Linked DNA regions of Homo sapiens: region 2 is linked to region 1. Evidence: promoter capture Hi-C in 16 types of primary human blood cells and fetal thymus (Javierre and others, 2016). All regions are on one chromosome and are shown on one strand. The core of a region is centred on a gene start or on the middle of the fragment in contact, and the rest is flanking DNA. Distances in the headings are between cores, read along the strand shown.

Evidence for each region. Contacts are between HindIII fragments. The CHiCAGO score rates a contact against its expected background, and 5 or more counts as called.
Region 2: a contact is called between a fragment that was not itself captured here and the fragment with the promoter of CHRNA2 in region 1, in 2 of 17 cell types (fetal thymus and naive CD8 T cells). The highest score is 5.7, in fetal thymus.

The regions. Positions count from the first base shown.
Region 1 is chr8:27,477,508-27,483,146 of GRCh38, reverse strand. It overlaps CHRNA2 (cholinergic receptor nicotinic alpha 2 subunit), which reads left to right and starts at 3,886. Exons shown (of 7, transcript NM_000742.4): 1 at 3,886-4,323. The HindIII fragment of the contact is 14,056 bases long and covers 1-5,639 here.
Region 2 is chr8:27,295,417-27,301,108 of GRCh38, reverse strand. It overlaps TRIM35 (tripartite motif containing 35), which reads left to right. Exons shown (of 6, transcript NM_171982.5): 2 at 2,550-2,645. Among named protein-coding and RNA genes, the nearest start is that of TRIM35, 13 kb to the left of the region's middle. The HindIII fragment of the contact is 1,627 bases long and covers 1,777-3,403 here.

The sequences.
Region 1 (5,639 bases), core at 2,637-5,136:
GGGTGTGCTTTCTAAAGATTTGGGTTTAGTCTACAAAGTCGAACAGCTGGAGAAAGTACTCACAGTTTGCTCAACTGGTAGTCCATGCAAAGTGAAGATGAGATACCAGAAATTAGTTCAATGTAATGGAAGACTTGGAGGAACAGGAATATTGGAATGGATTTCTTAATATATGACCTGCTCGCCTTCCTCCTGATGTGGAAGGACTCATCAGAGACCTCTTTTTCCAAGACCTTGAGAGGTGCATTGGTGAGGAAGAACCATCATCTCAATTACAGGAAAGTGCAGGAAGTGGTTTGAACCTTCAGTCCGAAGGTTAGAGTTAGGGAAACTTCTCAGTGCATGGCTGTATTAGTCCATCCTCACATTGCTGTAAATACCTGAGACTGGGTAATTTATAAAGAAAAGAGTCTTAATTGGCTCACGGTTTGCAGGCTGTACAGGAAGCATGGCTGGGGAGGCCTCAGGAAACTTACGGTTATGGCAGAAAGCAAAGGGGAAGCAGGCACGTCTTCACATTGCTACAACAGAAGGAAGAAGAGAGAAGGGGGAGATTCTACACTCTCTTAAACACCAGATCCTGTGAGAACTCACTCACTATCATGAGAAGAGCAAGGGAGAAATCCACCCTTACGATCCAGTCACCTTCCACCACACCCCACCTCCAACATTGGGGATTACAATTTAACACGCGATTTAGGTGGCAACACAAATCCAAACCTATCAATGGCACATGTCCATCATCTGTCTGCTGAAGGAGGAAGCAAGAGGAAGCTGTGTAGTGCCCCCTACCTAACAAAACCATAAATGCAATTAATACAATGTCTCCAGAGGAATCCCAAGGATTAGGGCCACCAGCAAAGGCTGTAAGGATGCAGAAGTGGTAATTTTGATGATCTCCAAATGCTACCTAAGGTAGATGGGTCTCATAGAATGTCAGTGGTTCATTGTAAACTTAAGTGATTCCGATTACAGAAGCTGTTCCCAATGTGGCCCGAATGCTCATCTTCCCAGCAGTAGTGGCAAACCCTGGTCTCTGGATGTGCTGGCAGAGCCCAGAGGTTCAAATTATTCACTTGGTGGCAAGTTGATTGTAGTGAATGCCTTATATGCTTGAGAAGGCAGCAATCTGGCTTTTGTGGAATACAGTAGATGCTTATTCTGGAGAATGGCTGGAGAGGAAACCAATACATACCCACTCTAACCTCATGATCTATTACTACAATGAGCACTGTACCTGTCTGTATTTTCTTACTGGCTTTGCTAATTTATTTCATATTCTGCCCACCCCATTACTTTCTATGTGTGTATTTTGAGTGAACGTTATGATTTATTCCATAGAAAACAGAATTTCAAGGTGGCACATGTGTCAGGAATTAGAGCAGGAGGCTGGACTTGGAGCTGGATGGTCACTGGTGAGACTTGGGGTTCTATCCCTGTGGAGTTAGGGTGGGGTTAGGGGGAGGCTTTTTGCTTGTGTGAGGAATGGTTGCATTCTGCTAGATTCTACATTTGTATGTTTGGCATCCACTATATGCACGGCCAAACTAACAGCCAACTTTGTTACATCTCCCCTGCAATCAGCTTTTGCAGGTGCACTACAGTTATAGTACAAGCCCTCTGCCTAATCTTGACTCAGTATCCCCAACAGCACCATTTGTCTAACTCTCACACACCGAGCCAGTATTCCTCCTGCCACAAATCACCTCAGAGCTAGGTACTGGGCAATTAGAGACCATCCCTATAGCTCAGAGCCCACCAAGATTATTCCAACTATCTCATCGCAAGCTGCTTCCTTGCACTGCCCTGGTTTTCCCGGGGAAACCTCATAAAGGCTCGGGGCCAGGCTTCCCACATTGTGCCCTCCACCTCCTGACACTCCCTGGTGCTGCTCTGTGTGGCCCTGCGGGAATGTGCCACCCCTCCTGTTTCTAGGGATCTGTGAGTATAAACTCCTTCCTTTATGACAGTCACTTCTGTGTCTGCATGTCTTACCAAACCTGATTAAAACAAATTCTGGGTGAAAATTTTAGGACAATTAGATGTAAACATTTTTTTTCAAAGTGTGATGATGGAAAGTCGAGTGTGCACTGATGTTAGGAGCCAAAGAGCTAGATTTCGTGTGGCGGGGAGGGGGGTGCTTTCCAGCATTGAAACAACTTTCAAATATTTCAGGAATGTCCCCCCTCTTGAAGTGGGCAGAGCCCACCTTCCACATAGAAGCTCAAAACCCCAGATTCCTGCTTCCTTGGCCTTCCTGGCATCTGGTTTGGGAGCACATGCTTTAATCAGATGCATCTGTTTCGACCTTTGTATGCAGAGCTAGTGACACAAAGGAGCAGGGCTGGAGGAGAATTAACTGTGGCAGCGGTGGCAGCAGCAGGGATGGCTGCTTCCAGGGACAGCGGTGACAGCGGCACCCATGACGGTGCCAGGTTCACATGCAGCTCTGTAGCAGCAGGACCCACCATGCTGGCCGCGGGGCAGAGGCTTCCCTCTTCTCCCTGCTCTCCAAGCAGCCCCTCCAGATTTCTAGGTGCTTCTGTGAACCACCCGTTGTTCCTCAATAAAACCATTCTCCACTTAAAGTAATTGGTAGGTTTTTATTGCTTGCAACCAAGAATCCTGATGGATACAAGCTGTGATTTTCTTTTCTTTTCTTTCCTTTCCTTTCCTTTCTTTTCTTTTTTCTTATTTCTTCCCTCCTTCCCTTCCTTCCTTCCTTCAGTCTCCAAATGAAAAATGTATACATCTAACTTTATATATATGTAAATATGGTAAAATATTAACATTTATTAATTATGAATAGTGGAAATATGAGTGTTTATGGTTTTTTGGTATTTTATGTCTTTTAATTCTCTCAAAAGATGATTCTAGCAATCGCATGCACATGTGTACACACAATGCACGTGTGTGTTTGTGTTTATTTGTGCTAATTGACTCCTCATAGTAAACCTATGAGGCAGGAGCCATTGTTCACATCCTCTTTTTACATCTGAGGAAACTGAGGCATAGGAAGCTGAAGAGGCCTGTCCAGGATTATGCAGCTGTTCAAGAGCAGAGCTAGAAATTCAGCCTCAGCAGTCTGTGGCCGGGTCATGTCCAGGGCCTTTGCTTTTAACAAAATAAGGGAGATGAGCTAGCAAGTAGCTTGAGGGAAAGGCCGAAAGCAGAGTGTTTTTAGGGTGGAGGATGAGCTTCTTTAGGGGCTGAAGGGAAGGAACGAGTGGGGCAGAGAGGGAGGATCTGAGAAAGCCCAGGCTGTTAATAGATGGGGTGATGTCAAGATCACAGTGGGCCAGGATTCGCCATGCACAGGAGGAGACAGGAGTACTCATCTGATACTAGAGAAAAGGAGGCTTCACCGGAAAATCAAAGGCAAGGTCACCTGCAAGGAGGCTGACGGGGTGACAGAGAAGCAGCCACACCGGGTGGCCGCGCAAGTGACCGGTGGTCCTCTAGGGTGGTGGGGGGAGGGGTCTCACAGGGGAGGAGGGCAAGGAGAGAACCGTGGGCTGGCTGGCAGCTCTGTCCTTACTCCAATTTTTCCGATGCTATTTACTGACTTAGAAGGTAAATACATTCCAAGGTTCTTCAAGTTCTTTACAGCTGGGCTTGTTCCAAGGCTGGAATTTGTGAAGTGGATTCACATACAGTGAAGCTGTATTGACAGACAGACCCAGGACCCAGGACCCAGAACCTGTGGGTGCACTCAGGGGCCCCAGGCAGTGATCCTGGAGCCCAGGGGTCCAGAGAGCAGGGAAGGGAGCATCGTGGTGACTGGACAGAGCTGCATCTGTCCCCACCGGACATAGGCTGGAGAGTCACAGGCTCCTCCTCCTTCCCCTCCAGAGAGGCTGTGTGTGTGTGTGTGTGTGTGTATGTGTGTGTGTGTGTGAGAGAGAGAGAGAACAGCGTGAGCCTGTGTGCTTGTGTGCTGAGCCCTCATCCCCTCCTGGGGCCAGGCTTGGGTTTCACCTGCAGAATCGCTTGTGCTGGGCTGCCTGGGCTGTCCTCAGTGGCACCTGCATGAAGCCGTTCTGGCTGCCAGAGCTGGACAGCCCCAGGAAAACCCACCTCTCTGCAGAGCTTGCCCAGCTGTCCCCGGGAAGCCAAATGCCTCTCATGTAAGTCTTCTGCTCGACGGGGTGTCTCCTAAACCCTCACTCTTCAGCCTCTGTTTGACCATGAAATGAAGTGACTGAGCTCTATTCTGTACCTGCCACTCTATTTCTGGGGTGACTTTTGTCAGCTGCCCAGAATCTCCAAGCCAGGCTGGTTCTCTGCATCCTTTCAATGACCTGTTTTCTTCTGTAACCACAGGTAAGAAAGGTACCCAAGGCTTATGTTGAGGGCGGCATGCATGTGGAGAGCTTGTGGATATGGGGTCAAAGAAATACTAGCAGTTTCTGGGTACTCAGGAGGGGGTTATGTCTGAATGCTGGATGTCACCTGCTCCTAGAAATATTTTAGTCTCCTGGTTGTCCCTGCTGGAGCTGTCCACAGCCAGGTGACGATGAACACCTCCTGGCTAGGATGGCTAGCCCAGTCTCAGGAATAGTGGCTTTGTTACACTGTATCTGCTCCTATGTCTTTACTACTGCTGTCCATTCTTTTGTTCATTTATTTACTCATTCTGTAAATTGTCTATGTCCTTTAAAAGGGCTAAAAGACAGCAATGCTATTTACTGACTTAGAAGGTAAATACCTTCCAAGGTTCTTCAAGTTCTTTACAGCTGGGCTTGTTCCAAGGCTGGCATTTGTGAAGTGGATTCCTCCATCAGCTGGTGTGGTTGTTCAGATGACCTTCAAGATCCCACCCAACCTTGAGTGTTAAACTTCTGTGATTGAGCAAAACAGATATAAAAGCTAGAATTACACTCTCTAGCCCCTAAGCACCTTGAGTGCATTTATTTGGAAGAAGAAATCATACTGGTTTCTCTAATGGAGGGGCTTCTTTGGGAGTGTAATGTTGCCAGTTGTGAAAAAGCTGAGACCTGTATGCTTGGGGAGGTTCTGGACAGCAGAAAGGAACCAGGTGGGATGGAAGCAGCCTTTTGGGAGAAGGAAATGTTAGTAAAAAGAGGAGAATGTGGACTGGTGGGTGAGAAGTTGAAAACAGAATTAGTAGAACCATGGACAGGGAAGTGAGCTCAAATCACCTTGACCTCCACGGAACCAGGATTCAGGCAGGCTAGAGATGCTGCAGTGAGTGTGGGGGTGGGGTGGGGGTGGCCTGGAACTGGTGTACGTGAGCAGCGACACAAGCCCAGTGGGGACACTGATGTCCGAGCACTTTACGTATGCAATCTCTTTTACATAGGCTTCTCTGTGTACCCCATTCACCCAGACCCACTTTACAATTAGGGACCTCATCCCACTCTCTCCCCTTCCCCAAATCTGCCAATCCAGCCACTTAGAGGGTCAAAGTGTGCAGCTCTTTTTTTTTTGACATCTTCCTAACCAGAGGTGGAAGTTCCCTCTAATTACTGTCAATCACCTGGAACAATTCCTCCTTTGGTTTCCAGTGACAAATTAAATGAAATGATATAGTGGGCTTATCACAGGGGATGCAGGTTTGAGGCATCTTGCTGGGAATACATCCTCTAGAGTCACTGCATCTTATTTGCACATTCTTC
Region 2 (5,692 bases), core at 1,341-3,840, 180 kb after region 1:
ATCTCAGAGAAGGGCCATTTTAGGATTGGTCTTTTCTGAAGGAAACCAGAACTCTCCAAGTGATTGAAAAGTTTGAGAAGATCAAGGGACTATCCCCTTCCCATCCTTATTGTCCCATAAATTCCTAAGGGCCAGGGTTGAAGGGCAGGGGCTGAACTGTGTTGTTTTGGGGCCTGCACACCTTTGGGTAATGCGTATGGACAGCTGCTTCACTCCTGTCACTTAACTAATTTGGCAAATCACTAAATTTTCCTTTTGAACTGTATTACATGATTTTGTATCAAAAATCTCATTCTATAAAATAAAACATTGGAATGACATTTCAGTGGTTTTGTGGGGGCACTCATGCAAATTAGAGATGATATACTACAGAAAACAAAGTTTAAAAATCTTAAATATTGTCACTTAAGATTAAAAGATCAAAATGAGTTGAAAATAAAACAGAACTGCAGAAAATGAAATCAGTAACCATTTTGTTTTCTGTAGTGAAAGACTTAAAGGAATGGGCTACTGAGTGGGACAAATGGGCTAGTTCTCTATTTCCTAGCAAATTGCCCCAAAACTTAGTGCCTTAAAACAAACATTAATTATCTTTGAGTTTCTTTGGGTCAGGAATTGGGCCTGCCTTAGCTCTGGGTGCCTCTGCCTCAAGGTGTCTCATGAGGGGCTGCAGTCAGGGTTCTGTGGGCTAGTTCTAACCAATGGGCTAGTTCTCTATTTCCTAGCAAATTGCCCAAAACTTAGTGCCTTAAAACAAACATTTATTATCTTTGAGTTTCTGTGGGTCAGGAATTGGGCCTGCCTTAGCTCTGGGTGCCTCTGCCTCAAGGTCTGTCATGAGGGGCTGTAGGTATGGAGCTGTGGTCTCATCTGAAGGCTCAGCTAGGGCAGGATCCTTATTTACACTCACATTTGTAGTTGTTGGCAGGATTCAGGTCTTCACGGGCTGTTAGCCTGAGAGCCTGAGTCCCTCACTGGCTGTAGGTCAGAAGCCACTCTCAGTTTCTTGCCCCAGCAGTCACTCCCAGGGCAAATTACCACATGGGCAGCTGGCTACCATCCCAGTGAGCAAGCTAGAGAGAGGAAGGCAGGGTGTACACAGCCTTTGTCGCCTAACCTCAGAGGTGACTTAGTATCACTTGCCACATTCTTTTGGTTAGAAACAAGTCACCCACAGAGGAGGGGATTTCACAAGAGCATGAGTATCAGGAGGTGAGGGTCACTGGGGCCACTTTAGAGGCTGCCTGCCTGAATCTGTCCTTTGCCCCATAAGGAGTCATGTCCCTCCCACATGCAAAATGCACTGGCCCTCTCCCAAGCTCTCCAAACATCTCATCCCTTTACAGCATCAGCCCAAAGTCCAGATTTGTCATCTAAATCAGGTCCAGATGGGAATGAGGCTTTGGGCGACACATCTGTATAATTTATTGCTGCATATCCAGTCACCCCGACATTTAGCAGCTTAAAACACTCTCATCTCACAGGAGGGAGGGATCACTGGGTGCTGTCTCAGCAGCTGCCTCCATAGCTGTCCAGGTTCACGTCCTTCCACATACTAGCTGTGTGCCCTTGGGCTGGTCATTTCCCTTCTGTGCCTCACTTTCTCATCTATAAATGGGGCCAATAATATTACTTATCTACTAGGGAGAAGTAATGATTAAATGACATAATTTCTCAAGTAATTGGTGTTGTCCCTGGCACAGAGTAAGTACTGAATAAATGATAACCATTTATAATTATTTGAATTATTTTTCTTAAGAAAAAACTTGAGAAGCTTTCTGAGAATGTAGATCGAAAAGGATAATGAGGGAGAAAAAATGATAGGCCTAAGATACAAGAGGCAGGAATCCAACCTAAAACACTCTAGTGGTTCTTCAAGTTGTCCAAGGACATCAGAAACAATCATTAAAGTTTAAGAAACAAAAACTACTAAACCAAAAGTATTTGTGCCTGCTGATTAAAGTATTCCGTGCGATACAAGCAGTGTTAGAATGTCAGGATGCAGGAGGGGTATGGAGGGGCATGTTGGGCATGTTGAGGTGAGGCCTCATGGGAGGTAACTGAACCCCGTGGGAAATGACTGGCTCCACCCCCATTGTCAGTCACCTCACATTAGAGATTGCAGACCCATTCAGTTTAGGAAACTGCAGAGGGAACCTATGACCACACTGTCTGCAGTTGTCCACACAGCTCAGGGATTCAGACCCAGCATGAACCAGCTTTTGGCCCACATGGGACACTCTTCTGGCCTGTGCTGTGACCAACATGAGAGAGAGCAGCTTGCTTCTTCTCAGCCCCATCTCCCAGTCTGTACCAGGCTGGGCTACAGGATGTCTGAGGGCTCTTTATCCCATGGATGTCTGATTCAGGATCAGGACCTTACTTACCATTTGTGCCCAGAGCACTTGGCATGGATGGGGTTAGGCAAATGCAGTTGAGTTACACTTGTGTTGAAGTGGAGTCCCAGTTGTAAATGTGATGTGTCTGCCCTCTCTGCCCAGCCTCCAGCCCTAACCTGTCTTCCTCCCTCTCTCTCATTCCCATGTCAGGCCAAGTGCAGGAACATGGAGCATGCACTGCGGGAGAAGGCCAAGGCCTTCTGGGCCATGCGGCGCTCCTATGAGGCCATCGCCAAGCACAATCAGGTGAGCGAACGATGGGGCCAAGTGGGAAGATTGGGTCCACTCAGGGCAGTCTGGGGAGGAGTGAAGATGTGTCAGCCGTGGCTTTGGCTCACATAACCCGCTGGGTAGAGGTCGGCTGCCTTACCTCTGATGGTCCTGTGCAGCCACGTCCTGGATGCTGACTGTGGCTTCTCTGCCTTGGCCCCTCTAAAGACCCAGGCGTGGTCATGCCAGCAGCCACAGGAGTGACTTAAAAAGCTACCAACACCATCTGCACTATGGCACATGCATCATATCACTGCCACCTGTGTGTTCAATGATGACCTGGGACTCATGTACTTTCTTGTTTTCTTTCAGTTCCCACATCCACTCCATCAGCAATCCTATTCCCCTATCTCCAAAGTATGTTATTTCTGTAAAACCCTCCACCTTTTGGTCCAGGTCATCATCATCTCTCACTGGGCCTCCTGCCTAGGGCCTCATGCTTTCATTCTTGTGCATTCTCCTTTCCATGGACTGGGGTGATCGTTTAGAAAAAAACACCAGCCGTGCCCCTCCTCTGCTTAAAACTGCCAGTGGCTTCCAGTCACCCTCAGTACCACCCAGATTCCTTACCATGGCCTCCAAGGCCATCTCCTGACCCTGCCTATCCTCAACCTCATTTACTTCTCTGCCTCACCTTCTTTCTGTCCCTTAAGCAAACTAAGTCTTCTCCCCAGAACACATGCCCAGCATCTTTGCCATTAAAATCTCAGCTCAGATGTTCTCTTAAAGAAGCTTTTCCTGATCATCCTCCTCTTTTACTCGATGGCATAATTTCCTGGTTTATTTTCTTAATGACACTTCATTACCTGTAATTACCTTTTGTTTTCTATTTGCTTTTTATCCCTTCCTGTCAAAATATAATGAAAACAGGGCACACTATTGCCAGTTATCTAGAGGAGTTCTTGGCACACAATAGGTGACCAATAAAAATTGTTGATTGAATGAGTGAAGTGGGTAGGTGACCAATAACTGTTAATCAAATGAATGAGTGGGCTCCCTCTGTCCCCATTCTGGTTGTTCTGCCTGGCACCCTCTCTTCCTCCAGGTCCTGTGTGGATTGGCAACCTTGTTTCTGACTGTTGATCTTGGCTCTGGTCTTTGGCTTTCTGAAGTGGTTGCTTCTAGTAATTACCACTCTGTTAGACTCATCTTAGCCACAGCTGAGCCATGCCTGGTCCAGGTTGCTGGGCGCTGTCCTCAGGAGCCTGCGGTCCCCTCCACCATGTGTCCATAGGTGAGGATTAGTCCCAGGAAAGAGCCTCATTAACATTTGGCTGTGGAGTTTACCCTGAGCCACAGAGCTGGTGGAACAGTGTGGAAGAAAGGATTATGTGACACACTGGGTGCCAGGGCAGTAACCGCAAAGCAGACCTATTTCCAAATCTAAGCCCAGTTCCCCAGCAAATCCCTCAACCCCCTCCAAGCTAATCCCCTCCTCTGTAAAAAGAGGGCAATTCCCTTTTACTAGGGTTTTTAAAAAAAAATTTAGATAAGATAATGCATACAAGTGCCCAACAGAGACAAGTCCTTAACATTTCTGATGTCTAATAGACCAACAAACTGGTGGGAGAGAGTTTTCACTTTGTTCAGTAGATTATTTTGTCATCCGATGTCAGAGCCATAAATACATGTTGAAATTCCAACTCCAAATAGCGATTACGAACCTGCTGTTGCTGGAGTTTGTTGAGTTGTTTTTCCAGTAGTCATCGTGGAGTCATGTAGCTTTATCATTGTTCTCTTACTTGGTTTCCTTCTGTGGCTAAAGCCATATGACTGGCTTGCCTTGTACAGGACTGGGTTGGGGATACTTAGGGAGTATCTGTCTGTCTGTGTGGTGGCACTGCCTGCCCATCCCAGGGAGTGTAGGAGTCCTGAGCTTTTTGCTGAGGCTAAGGGTAATGAGGTCACATGGGAAGCCCCTAGAATTCCAGCCTGATTAGTACTTTTTCTATTAAATTCAGTTATCAGGTCGATGAGGAAAGTGAAAGTTCTGGTGTTTGTTCCTTTACAGTGAGGCCGTCATTGCCCACGGTGAGTGGGCAGGAGTTGACCTTGCACTTGCTGGTTTTTCCTGCCATGCTGTGTTCTTGATGTTTTTGTGTGATAAGAATTACTGGGGAGAGGGAGAGCATCAGGATAAATAGCTAATGCATGCGGGGCTTAATGCCTAGGTGATGGGTTGACAGGTGCAGCAGACCACCATGGCGCACATTTACCTATGTAACAAACCTGCATGTCCTGCACATGTATCCTGGAACTTAAATGTAAAAAAAAAAAAAAAAAAAGAGAATCACCCTGGATTCTACTCTCTCCAATGCAGACATTATCAGTCTTTTCAGCCTGATAGGTTAACCATGCTGTTTGTCCTCATTTGCATTTCTTTGATTATTGGTAAGTTTGTACATCTTTTCACAAGCATAATAGTCATTTATGCTTCTTCTGTGAATGCTAATTCACATTCTTTTTTTCCCTTGGAATATTTGTCTTTTCTCTTAGTGGATTTGTAAGAGTGCTTTGTACATTAATAATAATAGCCATTTGTCATAAATGTTGCAAATATATTTCCTAGTTTGTCATTTCTTTTTGAGTGGATCATTCTCAATTTTTTTGGCCATTTTCATTTTTTCAGTGAATCCTTTTCGTATATTTTCAGAGCTGTAAACATACACACAGTCCCTGGCTTATGATTTTTTGACTTTACTGTGGTACGAAAGCAATATGCATTCAGTAGAAACTGTACTTTGAGTACCCATACAACCATTCTGTTTTTCCCCTTCAGTACAGTATTCAATAAATTACATGAGACACTCAGTGCTTTATTATGACATAGGCTTTGTGTTGGATGATTCTGCCCAAGTGTAGGCTAATGTGAGTGTCCTGGGCACGTTTAAGGTAGGCTAGGCTAACCTATGATGTTTTTAGTAGGTTAGGTGTATTCATTGCTTTGACTTAACTATTTTTCAACTTATGATGGGTTTATTGGGATGTAACCCCATCATAACTTGAGGAGCATCTGTATTTAA